2 separate regions of the Homo sapiens genome follow, and region 2 is linked to region 1. The links are contacts of gene promoters, found by promoter capture Hi-C in human tissues and cell types (Jung and others, 2019). All regions are on one chromosome and are shown on one strand. Each heading gives the region's core, a stretch centred on a gene start or on the middle of the fragment in contact. The rest is flanking DNA. Distances are from core to core; before and after follow the strand shown.

Region 1 (3,069 bases), core at 420-2,919:
CGGTTCAGGGAAAGGGGCAGCCTTAGAAACTACCTAGAGAAGGCACAGCCTTAGAAACTACCTAGAGAAGAAAATGGAGCATCAAGATTGTGCTTTACCCTTAGCATCTCTGCTTTCATCTTTTTTACATAATGAGCTTTAGTGTTTACCTCTCTGCTCACCAAGTTTTATTCTACTCAATGCTCAATTCGAAGGCTGCCTGTATCATGAAGATTCCCTCCATCGAAACCGAGCTTCTCCTTGTATAGAAAGACCATGTTTATTAAACTCATTTGCTATTGTATGTTACCTTGTGTTATTTTTTGCATCTTTGTTTATATAGATTTTGTTTCCCTAAGTAGCCCAAATATTTGAGAGTGGTCCTACCATTGACCTTTGAAACCCCAGCAATCAATACAGTCCCTATACATAATGTAGTGCCAATAATAATGTGCTAAGTATGTAATTTTTTTTCTACTGCTTTTAGTTTTTTGCACAACCTACCCTACGGAAAAAATTAAACACGCCCTCTTTCCCACTTCAACTAAACTTTTTGTTTTCTTTTTTCCATGTTTCCTAACGATCTTGATGAGCAATCAACAAATATACATTGAACACTCTCTCCCTGCCAGGTGTCAGGTTAAGCACTGAGGATCAAGGTCAACCAGACAGGTATAATACCAGTCTTCACTGAACTTACACTCTGGTGAAGGAAGTAGGTAAAAATTAAAAAGCGAATAAAATAATTGCAAGAATTATTAAGTGTCTTGAAAGACATAAAGGAACTACTTTCAAACAATTCATTTGTAATACAATTGGTAAAATTATGACAGGTCAGGGCAGCCCTCTGTGTAGACTATAAGATAAGCTAAATTGGAGAAAGGCAGAGGGAGTCATTACATTTGCATAAGCATACAGTTTGTATAATTTTAATCCTGTGTAGTTTCAACTTTACTATATTTTTTAATGAGCCTTGTTAACTTTAGATTTTAAGTCAAGCTATAAAATATATATAACTGAACCTTACATACCTGAGTCCCTCTACTGCTGATTTTGGGAAGAAAAAATAAACTTCCACATCTTCAGATTTCTCAGGAATCGGGCACCCCGCACCATAGCCCTTACTTGTGAGGAGTAGACTTCAAGAAGTAAGTGGGTGCATGTGAACGCGCAGGCAGACTAAAGGCTACAAAAGGGGATGAAATATGGTTTCTCAGGGTGCCAAATTTTTCATAAGGTGCAAATGACTTCAAAGGATAAAAGGGGCTAGTATTTGAAAGGGTCGGGCTGCAGAAGGGGTACAACTGATGAAGTCCCCAATTTCACTGTCTGGGGTTCACTCTTGATTCATTTATCCATTAGCATTTTGGGCTGGGAAGTCTTTGGTGTATACCAAAGGCTTTCAACTCCTGAGGCCAGGGCCCCGTCCTGCTGCCTGCAGGCCTGGCACTATGTCAGCCTATGGCAGGGGCTCAGCAAACACTTGCTGGGCCGGTGCCTCCAGCTCCACCCGAGCTGAGTCTGCTTCCCAGCCGCGCTGCCCGCTCTGCTCCCCGCACCAACTAGCCCGGGCTTGCTGCCCGCTAGGCGGACTCAGAGACCATCCTCCCCTCTCATCCACCCGCAGACAGACAACCCACCTGGAGACCCCAGCCTCTCGCGTCACCACCGCCGGATGGCCGCGGATAGCTGCCGGGAGTTTCCGTCTTGGTCTCCTTGGTTACCGCGTTACCTCGGTACCCATAGCAACCAGAAAGCTGGGTTCTGCCACTGTCCGCCGGCAGAGGGCGAAAAGGAGCCTGCGAAATGAGAGAGAATGGTGATCACAGGAAGGAAAAGGGCGGAAAAACTCAACAGGCTCTGGAAGCTTTCCGCCAGAGAGGATCTTGGAGATTATGTATGTGCTAAACCTGAGCATGTGTCATATTCCAAGCACAAGTGAGAGACTTATATGTCATATTTGATTCTTCCTCATAGCAAGCCAGCTTAAATCTAAAAAAATTAAGGCACAAAAAATTTGACTATCTTAATCCAAAATTACAAAGCTAGCAAATGGCAGACCTACAAATTAATTCAAGGAGTTTAGTCTCAGAACTCCCACATTTATGCTATGTTTAAATGATTTATCAATGGCTACCATAGGCAAAGTCAATAGAGATTCCAGGTCTCTTCAAAAGTCCAGAACTCTCTTTTCTTTGTACCGAATACATGACCCGTGGAGTCTAATGGGTATAAAACAAAAAGCAAAAGCAAATATATGCACACACACACACACACACACACACACACACACACACACAGTTAACCCACAATTCTCAACTCAACTCTTCCGAACAAAGCTGCACCTGTAGTGAATTTATCTTTGGCTTCCTAAATATGCTGTTTTTTATCTCCCTTTTTAAATACTGCAAGTAGGATGTGTGGTTGGTACTGCACTGTATAGGCTTCTATGCTTAACCACATTGCATCTGTCTCGGTACCAGACTAACAATCCTAACTATTACAGTTAATGTACTAATCTTTACACCATTACTTTTGACATTACTATGCCTGCCAATACCCATTTAAAAAAAAATAATGATTTCACTTGGCATATTCAATTATATAAGATTACAACCACTATGGATAAGAGAAGACAATGGTAGTCTTCTGGTTATAAGTCTGGATTTTGGAGTCAGGCAGATTCAAGATTGAGTGCCAGTACTGCCACAACTTACCTGCTGTGTGACCATGAGCAAGTAACAATGCTCAGTCTAACTGCTTAAATGAGATAACAGTACAGTTAGTCCATACGTAATGTAGTATGGAAGAGTAAATGAAACAATAAATATTAAGTATTTAGCTCTAAGCCAGGCCCATATTGAGTGCTTAATAAACAGTAAGAAACAGTGGTGCTGGTGTGGCTATGATGGTTGCTATTAACGTGTTCATGGTATAACTTTACCACGTCCTTCCTTTAACTTTAATACAAGAACTAGTTTCAGGTGGATGTGCGATACTACTGGTTTTCTTGCACAGACTATTTCCCATACAGGCGCGCTCTTCAAATTACCAAAGATATTTTCAGCTTTCGTCCATTTACTGATCTAT
Region 2 (3,347 bases), core at 294-2,793, 380 kb after region 1:
GGGTGGGTAGTTTTGGATCTTGAGCTTGTGTCATTGTTTTGGTGACATGCGGAATTTATGCATCTGTATTTGAACAAGATTTAACACTAGTACAACAGCTGTTCCTTAGAACAAATGAACTCTTTGCTTATATAAGAACCTTTAACCTAACCTAGAGAGGGAGAAAACAGTGCCTCATATGGTTTACTCACGTGTGATCTTTTGCCCCAAGCCTGCCTTCAGACTTTCGAACAATAGACTTAATACATTTGGGATTGCAGGTGTTTTTATAAGTGTATCCATTGCAAGACTAGCCACTGGGTTGCAACAGCTTTGAGGCTTGAAGAACCCAAATAAAAAGATGAAAAGTTTGGTGATAGAAATTTTAGTTTGTTAAACTATTCATTGTCCCCAGGTTAAAAACTTTATGGGCCTCTATTTAATGGCTGATGCCTTTGCCCAGATTCTCTGTTAATAAAACTAAATTCCCAATTGTAACAATTTCTAATTGTATCATCAAATGTAGTAGCATAAAAACTTTAAGCCATGTTTGCCTTAAAGATTTGATTGATGTGGTGGGGTGGAGGACTAGTGAGTAATACCTTTATTATCTGACTTGTGTAGGCTCATTCTACCTTAACCCACCCTCCAACCATTGTATAGTCTACTCATGTCCTAATTCCATAAGACATTAGAGTAATTTCTGTTGCATAAATGATAGCTTTCATTGCTTATAAAATGTGCTTCAATACACTCAATAATGTCTTCTTCAAACTTATATTGCATTGATTACATCTGGCAGCCCCATATGGTAAAACGTAGTTATGACCCTTCTAATTAAATTATAGTTAGAAACTCACTTCTGGGGTGCAGCTCAGCAATCTACCAAATTTCTCAGTGACATTCAGAACATGAAATAACTTGGGGAGAATAAATTTGCAACACAAATGGGAACAGAGGAGAAGGTTTTCAATCTCTATTTATTTTTCAAAATTCATTACTTGTACAATTTATTTTCCAAACTAATTCTAAGCAAAGATGAGTAATACTACCTTGGCAGGAGTCTGTGCTTAAGATATTTCCATATGTTTAAGCAGAAATACCTAGTATGGTACTTTCCCTATAAGTAGAATGCCATGAAAAACGTTCTTAAGACAGGTTCTCCAGCACCTCCTTCCACCCTTGGTCTCGATGAAGGACCCCATGTCCTATTTCACAGAGAAAAGGGAAACCTTCAGAAAACTTCCACACTCACTACCACTTGTTTCCACCCAAAAGCATCTGTACCCATGTACTTTACCTTTTCTCCTGTTTCTATAGATACGTTGTCGGTGCTTCTCTATAAGGTCAATGCCTCTGCTTGTGTTCTAGACTTCATTCCCTCTCCTCTCCTCATGATACCACTCCTGCAGTGCCCTTCTCCTCCAAATAATCAACTTCCCCCTCCCCTAGATCATTACCCCTAGGAAACAAACGTGCTGTTTTTTCTCCTGTCTTAAACAAACTAGAAAACGAAGAAAACTCTTTCTTGACTACTCCCTTCTCCACCCAGCTACTGTTCTTCAAGAGTTTTCTTTGCTCAGTTTCTAAATTTTTGTTCCCCATTCTTCCTTAACTCAGTCTAATGAGGCTTTCAGTTTCACTCTCCACCTCAGCCTCCCCATTCCACCTGTATTGGCTTCTTGCTGATCTGTGGATTAACCAGACTCATTCCTCAGCATTTGCACTTGCTAATCCCTGGCTTCTGACCCTAGATATCCAGAGTTTAGCTTCTTCACCTTCCTCCTTGAAACCTTTGTTCAAAAATCACCTATTCAGTGAAGCTTCCTAATCTTTTTATTTAAAATTGCGATACTCCCTCTCACCTCCTTACTTTCTTATCCCCTTTCACTGAGGTTTTTTTTTTCCAGGATATTTATCACATTCTAATATTCTACATGACTTATTTTCTAAATAAAATTCCTTACAGAGGTTTTTGAAGACTTGAATGTTTAACAGGCAAAGTAGATAGAAGCCTCCTTTACGAACAAATTGAATGCCCGGTGACATTCAATTCAAGGAGGGGATGTTGGGAAGGAAGGGGTCTGGACTTTGGAGCCAGACCTGATTGATTCTCTGCTTACTATTTTTCAGCTGTGTCATTTTAGGTAATCTACCCAAAGTCCCCAGGTCTCAGTTGGCTCATGTGTAAGTAGGGAAAATATACCTAAATCATTCATTCAGCAAACATTGAGTGCAGACTTGGGCCAAGCAGTGGGCTAGGTCCTGGTAGTCCTAAGTGGGTCGGATGTGGTTTCTGTTCCTCATGGAGCTTGCAGTCTAGGGAGCAAATTGATGTTAGGCAATAATGCTAGAAAAAAAAGATAAAAATCACAGCTAGTAGATTGCAAAGGAATAAGTGGTCTGGCTTGTAATTATTGCTCAATTATTTCCTCGTTTCCCATTCCTCTCATGCCACCACTGTCATATTTCAACCACAGTTTTGTGTGTGTGTGTGTGTGTGTATGTGTGTGTGTGTGTGTTGAGACAGGATCTTACTCTGTCACCCAGGCTCAAGTGTAGCGGTGTGATCTTGGCTCACTGCAACCTCCACCTCCTAGGCTCAAGCAATCCCCTCACCTCAGCCTCCCAAGTAACTGGAAACACAGGTGTGCACCACCACGCCCAGCTAATTTATCTTGTATCTTTGGTGGAGACGCAGTTCCAACATGTTGCTCAGGCTGCTATACCACGATTTTACTGACAGGCATATCCCAGTTGGTATTCTACCAGCTCGTTTTCCACACTTGAGTGTGTCTAACAATCACCTGAAATATCCGTTAAAAATACAGGCAACTGAGGTCAATATGTAGAATTTCTTTTTCAAGAGTTTGGTGATGTAACCCCCAAACTGGATTTTAACCATCTCCTAGGAAATTCTGAAGTAGCAATCACCAGACCACACACTCAGAAGTGCCAGGTTTGAGAAATAGTTGTATTGTCTCTCTTTTTAATAATAGGTTATGAAAACACTTTAAAGTCATGTCATTCTGAATAAATTATATTCTCCCAAAAGCTATTTAATCTAGAACTTTTGCCTCACATTAATAATACTAATGATCTTTAGAGAGCACACACTATTGAATTATACTAGGATCTAAATCTTAACTCACTCCCCAAGGACACCTTTTGTTTCCTGGTATCTTTATTGCAAAAAACACTTAAATAATTTTTAAATTGCATCAATTATAATGGCTAAAAAGTAAGGAACAGCAAGAGAGCCACAACCAAAAAGAAAACTGACCACAGAGAGCCTTCCTGCCACAGGCACTGAGGACAGCAATCAACAGATGGTGCTAACTGCTGTGATTATTAAGCCAAACACATTT

The links. Contacts are between HindIII fragments. The study calls those that stand out against the background at their distance.
Region 2: a contact is called between a fragment that was not itself captured here and the fragment with the promoter of ZBBX in region 1, in 1 of the 25 tissues and cell types used here (dorsolateral prefrontal cortex).

Annotation. Positions count from the first base shown.
Region 1 is chr3:167,378,628-167,381,696 of GRCh38, forward strand. It overlaps ZBBX (zinc finger B-box domain containing), which reads right to left and starts at 1,670. Exons shown (of 22, transcript NM_001199201.2): 1 at 1,620-1,670; 2 at 1,011-1,165. The HindIII fragment of the contact is 5,963 bases long and covers 1-3,069 here.
Region 2 is chr3:167,760,896-167,764,242 of GRCh38, forward strand. The region is part of intron 1 of SERPINI1 (serpin family I member 1); the gene reads left to right. Among named protein-coding and RNA genes, the nearest start is that of SERPINI1, 27 kb to the left of the region's middle. The HindIII fragment of the contact is 3,198 bases long and covers 1-3,142 here.